Linked DNA regions of Homo sapiens: region 2 is linked to region 1. The links are contacts of gene promoters, found by promoter capture Hi-C in blood cells and fetal thymus (Javierre and others, 2016). All regions are on one chromosome and are shown on one strand. The core of a region is centred on a gene start or on the middle of the fragment in contact, and the rest is flanking DNA. Distances in the headings are between cores, read along the strand shown.

The links. Contacts are between HindIII fragments. The CHiCAGO score rates a contact against its expected background, and 5 or more counts as called.
Region 2: a fragment that was not itself captured here is called in contact with the fragment with the promoter of SLC9B1 in region 1 in 3 of 17 cell types (naive CD4 T cells, naive CD8 T cells and total CD8 T cells); the score reaches 6.5 in naive CD4 T cells.

What each region holds. Positions count from the first base shown.
Region 1 is chr4:103,017,472-103,021,022 of GRCh38, reverse strand. It overlaps SLC9B1 (solute carrier family 9 member B1), which reads left to right and starts at 1,318. Exons shown (of 12, transcript NM_139173.4): 1 at 1,318-1,424. It also overlaps a transcript of SLC9B2 not described here. RefSeq lists an enhancer at 977-1,477. The HindIII fragment of the contact is 6,332 bases long and covers 683-3,551 here.
Region 2 is chr4:101,170,328-101,174,251 of GRCh38, reverse strand. The region is part of intron 2 of PPP3CA (protein phosphatase 3 catalytic subunit alpha); the gene reads left to right. Among named protein-coding and RNA genes, the nearest start is that of MIR8066, 69 kb to the left of the region's middle. The HindIII fragment of the contact is 3,729 bases long and covers 1-3,452 here.

The DNA.
Region 1 (3,551 bases), core at 69-2,568:
CTGTCTACTCTCCTGAAACGAGGAAGAAAAATAAATCCTTGCTGAGATGTCTATAACACGTTGAAGGAGGGAAGGTGTTAAAAACAATAAAAAGGGCAGGGCTGTGGTGGCTCACGCTTGTAATCCCAGTACTGTGGGAAGCCAAGACGGGCAGATCACTTAAGTCCAGGAGTTCAAGTCCTCCTGGGCAATATGTGAAACTCCTCTCTACTAAAAATACAAAAATTAGCCGGGGGTAGTGGTGCCCACCTGTAGTCCCAGCTACTCAGGAGGCAGGAGGATCGCTTGAACCAAGGAGGAGGAGGCTGCAGGGAGCCTAGATCGCACTGCACTCCAGCCGGGGTAATAGAGTGAGACCCTGTCTCAACAACGTCAACAAAACCAATAAAAAGATAATTTCGTATTTAAGTTACCCAAGAAGGAACGGTAATTTGGATCAGATCTTAGATGATGACTAAGAAAAAGAACACTCCGGTAGAGGAATTAACTTTACAGAACGCACTGAGGCAAAAAGGAATACAGTGTTCAAGAGTAAACATTGAGTGTCAGGAGAAACATTAGATAGGAAAGGGCAGTTTGTCTTTCTAAGAAGTTTACACTTTCTCCAATAACAGTTGTTTTTGTCTTTTATAGGAAGCGCGGATTCTATTACTGGAAACTTTGGGACTGAAAGGCCAAAGCTTCTGGGCCCACCATCAACGCAGCTCCGCTTTCATTTCTTTCACATACAACTTTCCACATAAGATTTCATGCGGAAAAAAAAAAAAAACTCACAAAGGTTTTATACTGATAACAGTATATTAAGTGTTTACTTTGTACACAGCGTCTTTGTTCCAGACACTTGCCATGTCTCATTTATTCTCACACCACCACCACAGCGTCCTTTACAGATGAGAAGACAACCTCAGGGAGACGATGTATTTGCCTAGGTCCCATAGCTAGCAAGTGACAGCGCTGCAGTTTAAGCTCAGGCCGTCTTGGGGAGAGACCGTGCTCTTCTACCATTGCACTTTAAGCTGACTTTAGGGGAAACACAATCTGAGTTTTGACAAGTTTACTTCTGGCACATGCAGTCCCGAGCACTGCTTTTTGGCTAAAATGCCCAGTGATGTCAACTCTGTCCCTGGATTTCTACAACCCGATGAGTCAATATTCAGAAGAGACGTCGAAAGGAAAGGGTTCAATAGACAGAAAACACACCAGACAGTCCCAGAAACCCCAGAACCCTCGCCTCTGCCGGCGCGGACAGCCAAGACGTCACTTAAACGCGCTGCCGCCTCCTCGCCCCGCCCCGCCCCTGCGCGGAAGTCTATCCGGGCTTTCGCGTCACCACCCTGCCCACCTGGGTGGCGCGTGGCTTACGCAACGGTCACTGGGCTCCTGGGCCGCTCCCGGGCCAGCGAGGGCTGCGAAAGAAGTTGTAGGTACGGCCCATTTTTCTTAACGCCGCCCTTCCAAGCCCTTTGGCGCTAGTCCCGGGTCTGCCGCGATCGTTTCCTTGCGGTAGGCCGCAGGAGGGCCTTTCCTCCCCCTCAGTTCAATGGGATTCTTGGGCTCTTCTCCCAGACGCTGAGGGAACAGCCACAGACATTGTCTCTCCTCTCCGTGACTCCTTTCCTTACTCCGTCATCCCACATCTCTCTTGTTTGTTCTCTTTTCCTCCTGTTTTTCTTATTTTACAAATACTCGCCAGTAAGAAAGAAGAGATCTGTCAGTTAAGATTGACCTCAAAATTAATTTTATTAAGCGTGTACTATTTTACAAACGGTGGATCCCTGCAAATAAACCTTCACATACATGCTCCTGCGACTGGAGATTCTGGGATTGGTTGCCGATCCTGAGAAAGCTCTCTTCCCCCACCCACCCACATCCACGCCCCTTAATCCTGTTTACTCCTCTTGGCTTTAACCCAGGGGACAAGCACTTCCAGCAGTCCCCAACCTTTTTGGCACCAGGGATCAGTTTCATGGAAGACAGTTTGGGGTGGGGGGCAAGATGGGATGACACTCTTCTATCTCAGATCATCAGGCATTAGATTCTCTTGAGAAGGCGCAATTTAGATCCCTCACATGCGCAGTTCATAATCAGGTCTGTGCTCCTATGAGAATCTAATGCCTTTGCTCATCTGACAGGAGCTGGAGCTCAGGCATAATCCTCTAGCCCTGCTCACCTGCTGTGTGGCCTGTTCCTAATAGGCCACAAACCTGTACCTGTCTGCTGCCCAGGGGTTGGGGATCCCTGCTTTAGACCAGTGCTTTTGAAGGAAAAAGGAAAGTTGCACACATACTGTGTCTGTCACATCAATCAGTAGTGTTACAAGAGCTCTTCACGGGACCATACCAGGTCCCTCACTCCCCCTCTATGGGTGTCCTAGAGCCTGTGAAATAACAGATTTGGTGATGTGGGGAGACAACTGGCCCAGGTGGCACTGAGGGAGGCCACACCCCACTCTCTGATTTTCCTTAGAGATAAATATAATTATGTGTGCAACAGAAGCATGAAAAATGACACTTATTATTGTCACCCCTAGAGAATTCATGCCCCAAATATTTTAGTCACTGTGTGCCTATGAAAAGGGCATTCATAGGTATTGTCCCCTGTGAGTACCAGAATTTTTTTTAACTTACTTTTTAAAATTCTATACAGATTTAGTTAGTACAAGTTCAGTTTTGTTGTGTGGATATATTGCACAGTGGTGAAGTCTGGGCTTTTAGAGTACCAGAATTTATACTGCTGTTTTTCAGTTGGCTCTTGTCATAAGGTCCTGCCAATTACTAGACACAAGGAAATAGGTGGGTGCTATAGTTGTAACATATAAAGTATCGTTTTTATAGTACTTCTCATTTTGTACTTATTTTTGTACTCATCCTGTTTAAACACTTCTGTTGGTTAACCAAATCCCATGTTACTGTGGTGTTTACTAAACACTGAGATTGAATAGTACCTGGAACATAGTGTAATATATGTTCAATAAATATTTTTTGAGGGAATGAATGGATGAGCTTCTGAAGAAGCCATACCTTAGCCACTTTTGTTTTTCCTGGATCCAGAGCTTAGTCTAGCAGTAGTAAACTCACCAGTGTGAGTTAAGTAGAGAAGTCAAGTGACTTGCTTAGGGAAAGGCATTCATTAAGTATTTTTTAAAGAATATCCTACTTTGTCAGGCGTTGTTTTAGGCATTGTGAATACAATGGTAAGAAAGACTAGCAAGATCGCTGTTCTTATGAAGTTTAAATTCTAGTGAGTGTAAGATAGAAAATAGGTAAACTATATGAGCAAGGAATTTTGGATAATAGTAAGCACAGTGAAGAAGTAAAACTGTAAAGGTCTTCCTTAAGACTGGGGGAGGGGTTAGTTTAGATTGATTGCTTAGTGATATTTTTAAAAACCAACCATGGAAATATTTGGGATCAGCGCACTACAGGTAAAGGCAACTCCAATTGCAAGAGCCCTAAGGAAGGAAAGAACTTGGCTCCTTCCAGGAACATCATCAAGACCACTGAAGCTAAAATGTAGAGAAAGTGGTACAGGATGAGCTTGGAGGGATAGGT
Region 2 (3,924 bases), core at 339-2,838, 1.8 Mb after region 1:
TGAAGGAGACAATCTTATTGATAAAAACATAAATATTTAATAGAGCCATAGTATATTAAAAGATTTTGAAAATATAAAGTTGATTGATTTCAGTAACTTCCAAACTATTTGTTAACAACGTGGTTTTTTTTGTTAGTTTGTTTTTCTGGCGGGGTGGGGGGGGCGTAGTTTTTGTGTTTGTTTGTTTGTTTATTTGTTTTAAGAAAGGGTCTCATTCTGTTGCCCGGGCTGGAGTTCAGTGGTGTAGTCATAGCTCACAGCAGCCTCGAATGCCTGGGCTCAAGTGATCCTAATGCCTCAGCCTCCCAGGTAGCTGGGACTACAGGCACCCACCACCATTCCCAGCTAATTTTTAAATTTTTTTGTTGAGACAAGGTCTTGCTCTGCTGCCTAGACTGGTTTCAAAGTCGTGGCCTCAAGTGATCCTCCTACCTTGGCCTACCAAAATGTGAAGATTACAAGCATGATCCACCATGCTCTTTTTTTTCTTAATGAAATATTTAAATGCAAAATTCCAAATATAAAACAGAGAGGTTATTATTATATTAATTTAGCTAAATCAGGAATTTTTTTGATTGAAAAATTAAAATTATTTGGATGGAAGACATCTTTGCTAAACTGTTATTTAAAACTTATGTATGCTTGCAGAGGGACCTCATCTCTGTGTCCATTTTCATGTCTCTAGCTATATAAATCCTGACATCACTGTCTTTCTAGTGGATAAGAATAAGTGTGTAGTGTAAATATGATACTGTTACATTTTAGCAATTAATAAAAATGTCAATTGCTAGGGCTGGATATAATTGCAGAAACGACCTAGTGTTTCACTTTGCTGTTTGAAAAAAAAAGCCCTCTAAAGTTTGGATCTTTTTTTTTCCTTAGCACTCAAATTGTGAACCACTAGGTTTGCAAACTTTTGTACATCCAAGCACAGCCTCTCTCTTACCACAGGCCAAATAAACACCCTGCCTACCACACATCCATCTATTCCTCATTGAAATGTACCTGAGCTTATAGGACATTTCACTTACACCCCTCACCCCCTCATCCCCCAATAAAGGCAAAAGCCCTGTTCCATTAATCCCTAAAAGCCACTGTCAGTGCCCAGAATCTGTCTTTAGAATCTGGGCTGTGTTATTATTACACTGGCCCAATGGCTCTACTTTTACACTAAGAGGAAGAAGTTGTAGAGAGGAGTCTGAGGAGGGAAGTTGGCTTGTGGAGCTCCGTGTACATGTGGGTTATCATAAATCTGGGAATGCTGGATTTAAATGTCCAGTTAATTGTTCTTCAGTGCAAACAAATCTAATGTGTGCCTTGTAGTTAATTGATTTTATTAGTCTGAATTGTGAAAATAAAGTAGCATTGCAAGTTTTGAAGCCTTTTTTTACAGGATCATTAAAAAATATATTTAAGTGAGGACGTGGGTTTTAGAAAGAATGAGAACTTAGAGAGTTATGTTTAATATGTCTTGTGGGAATAAGAAAGCAAATGAATTCCCATTGTAAGTTAGAATTTGTCCTGATTTAAAAACTAGATTCAGCTTCCCTCTGCATTAGAAAACTAGGTGATTTCATGGAAATAGGGCTAAACCTCCTAAGACTCATTAGAGAAGGGACCACATGTGCTTAGAAAGGAGTCTGAAATGAGGAAGGGGGACAAAGACTCGTTTTAAGATTTTAAAAGAAAGGAAAGTGAGGAAAACATTTTGGGGACATTTAGTCACAAGGGAACTGTGACTAACTCTGTTAGTCACAGTGCTGAATACTTTTTTACATGTTTTCATAATTAAGGTCCTAAATAACCTCACAATTTGGTAATTAATGTAGCACCAACTATATTCTAGGTATTCTTGTAAGTTTTTGGAATATATCAGTGAATTAGAAGCAAGATGGGTACATAATTCTCTCTGTAGATGAAATAGCTGAAGCCAGTAATGTTAAGAGCTTGTCTAAGGCCGCAGATAGAAGTGTCAGAAATGGGATTTGGACCAATCTCTCTGGTTCTATGCTCAGGTTGTGGGAATATAGCATGAATTTCTAGACATACTCATGTTGAGGATTTTTTCCCTTACAATAGGATAATAATACCTCCACTGCCTGTCATGGGCTTATTGAGAGAGTCAAGCGGTACTCTGGATATGATGGCATTTTGTTTCTTCCTTTCTCCCACTGCTCTCCATCAGTACTTTGATAGAGCACTAATGCTCTGGATTAAGTCATTTACAAGTATGACTCGTTTAATAAGAAATACACAGCTGTAGTCTACAGACTATCATTCATTCATTGAATCAGTCAGTCTACAAATATTTATTGAATGCTGTCATGCATTAGGCATTGTGCTATATATGGCAGTGACATAGTAAATGAGAGACATGCTCATTTTCTCATAATCCTTATATCCTAGCAGAAATCGGTATTAAACAGATTACACAATTGCATATATTTGTGGTAAGTATTACAGAGGAAAACTAGAGACATATTTATGTCTCTTATACCTATGCCTGTTTTTTACCAAGTAAATTAATTAGTAAATTAATGAATGGTGAGAATAAATTCTTCTACAAAGTCATGACTGAGCATGGGCACTCTAGAGTTATGCCAGGGTTCATAATCCAGCCTTATGCCTACTGGGCTTTGGGACTTTACATGAGTTACTTAACCTTTCCATGTTCCAGTTTCCTGCAGAATGGGGATAATAATAGTTTTAGAAGGGCTGAAAGAAGGAACATTGGGAAACAGTTTAGAACAGTGCAAGATATACAGTGAGTGCACAATAAGATTTAGCTATTATTATTTTTATTACTATTGTCATGTAGCGGAACTTCACAGGCAAGTTCTCTTTTAACCATAGTATTTACCTAAGCTGTCAACCTTCTTTGAAGGGTTTTTTTTTTTTTTTGAAAGAATTGTTCATAAACGAGTATGCATCAGAACCAACTATGGAGCTTTAAAGAATATACATGTTTAGCTCCTATTGTGGGAGATTGTTATTCAGTAAGTCTGAATTGAGCTCTGCTTTTCAGAAGCTCCACAGATGACCCCGATTCACACACCAAGGTAAAAACGGATGGCTTTCAAATGACACAGAAAGGAGATTTCACACATGGCAGGGAAGGAATGTAAACTACTGACAACCACCCAAAGGACTTTTCTCTGTGTACCTTGGGTGAGTATTGATAGCTACTTGGAAAAATGTGATAGTAAGTAAAACAGTAAATATTTAAGTATTCCTGTAGATGCTAGTTAATTCCTTTTTAAATGGGATTGAATTTTAGTACTTTAAAAAATACCAAAATGATTATTTGCCCAAATAAGTTTGACTAGACTAGAATGCGAGCTCCTTGAAGGCAGGGATTTGTGTCAGTTTCACAGATATATTGGTAAATGTATCAGTAAATAAGAGTGCTCAATAAATAAGAGTTTAAATAAATTGAATGAATTTTGAAAGCTTAAGATATTTGGGGAACAGATAAGAATGATTAATTATAGGCTGGGCAAGAATTTTTGAGTGAAGGTAGATGAAACGTGATTATTCTGTTACTTTTCTTAGTAAAATCCAAGTATAGGTATATCTAAGAAAAGTGCAGACATGTAGAGAAGAGATGCTAGGTGTGAGGTTGACCCAAGCATGGTGAACATTTTTTGGCAAATATGAAGGCAGTCTCCTGTTGTTATTTTTTTTTTTCACCTCTCACCCTACTTCCATGATATTCTTTCCCAGCCCTTAACTCCTTTCCAGTTAGTTAAATTCCATTTATTTATTTGTAGTAACATGCAAAATGTTTATTGCTTTTGCTTTTTAAATTCTGACTGATGCTCTCTGTTATGTAGTTAACTGTGGCTTTAGAATTACCAGGAAAAATTATAGCCTTGAGGGTCCAGGAGATTAAAGCCTAACATCTCAGGTACTTTGCAGTATATT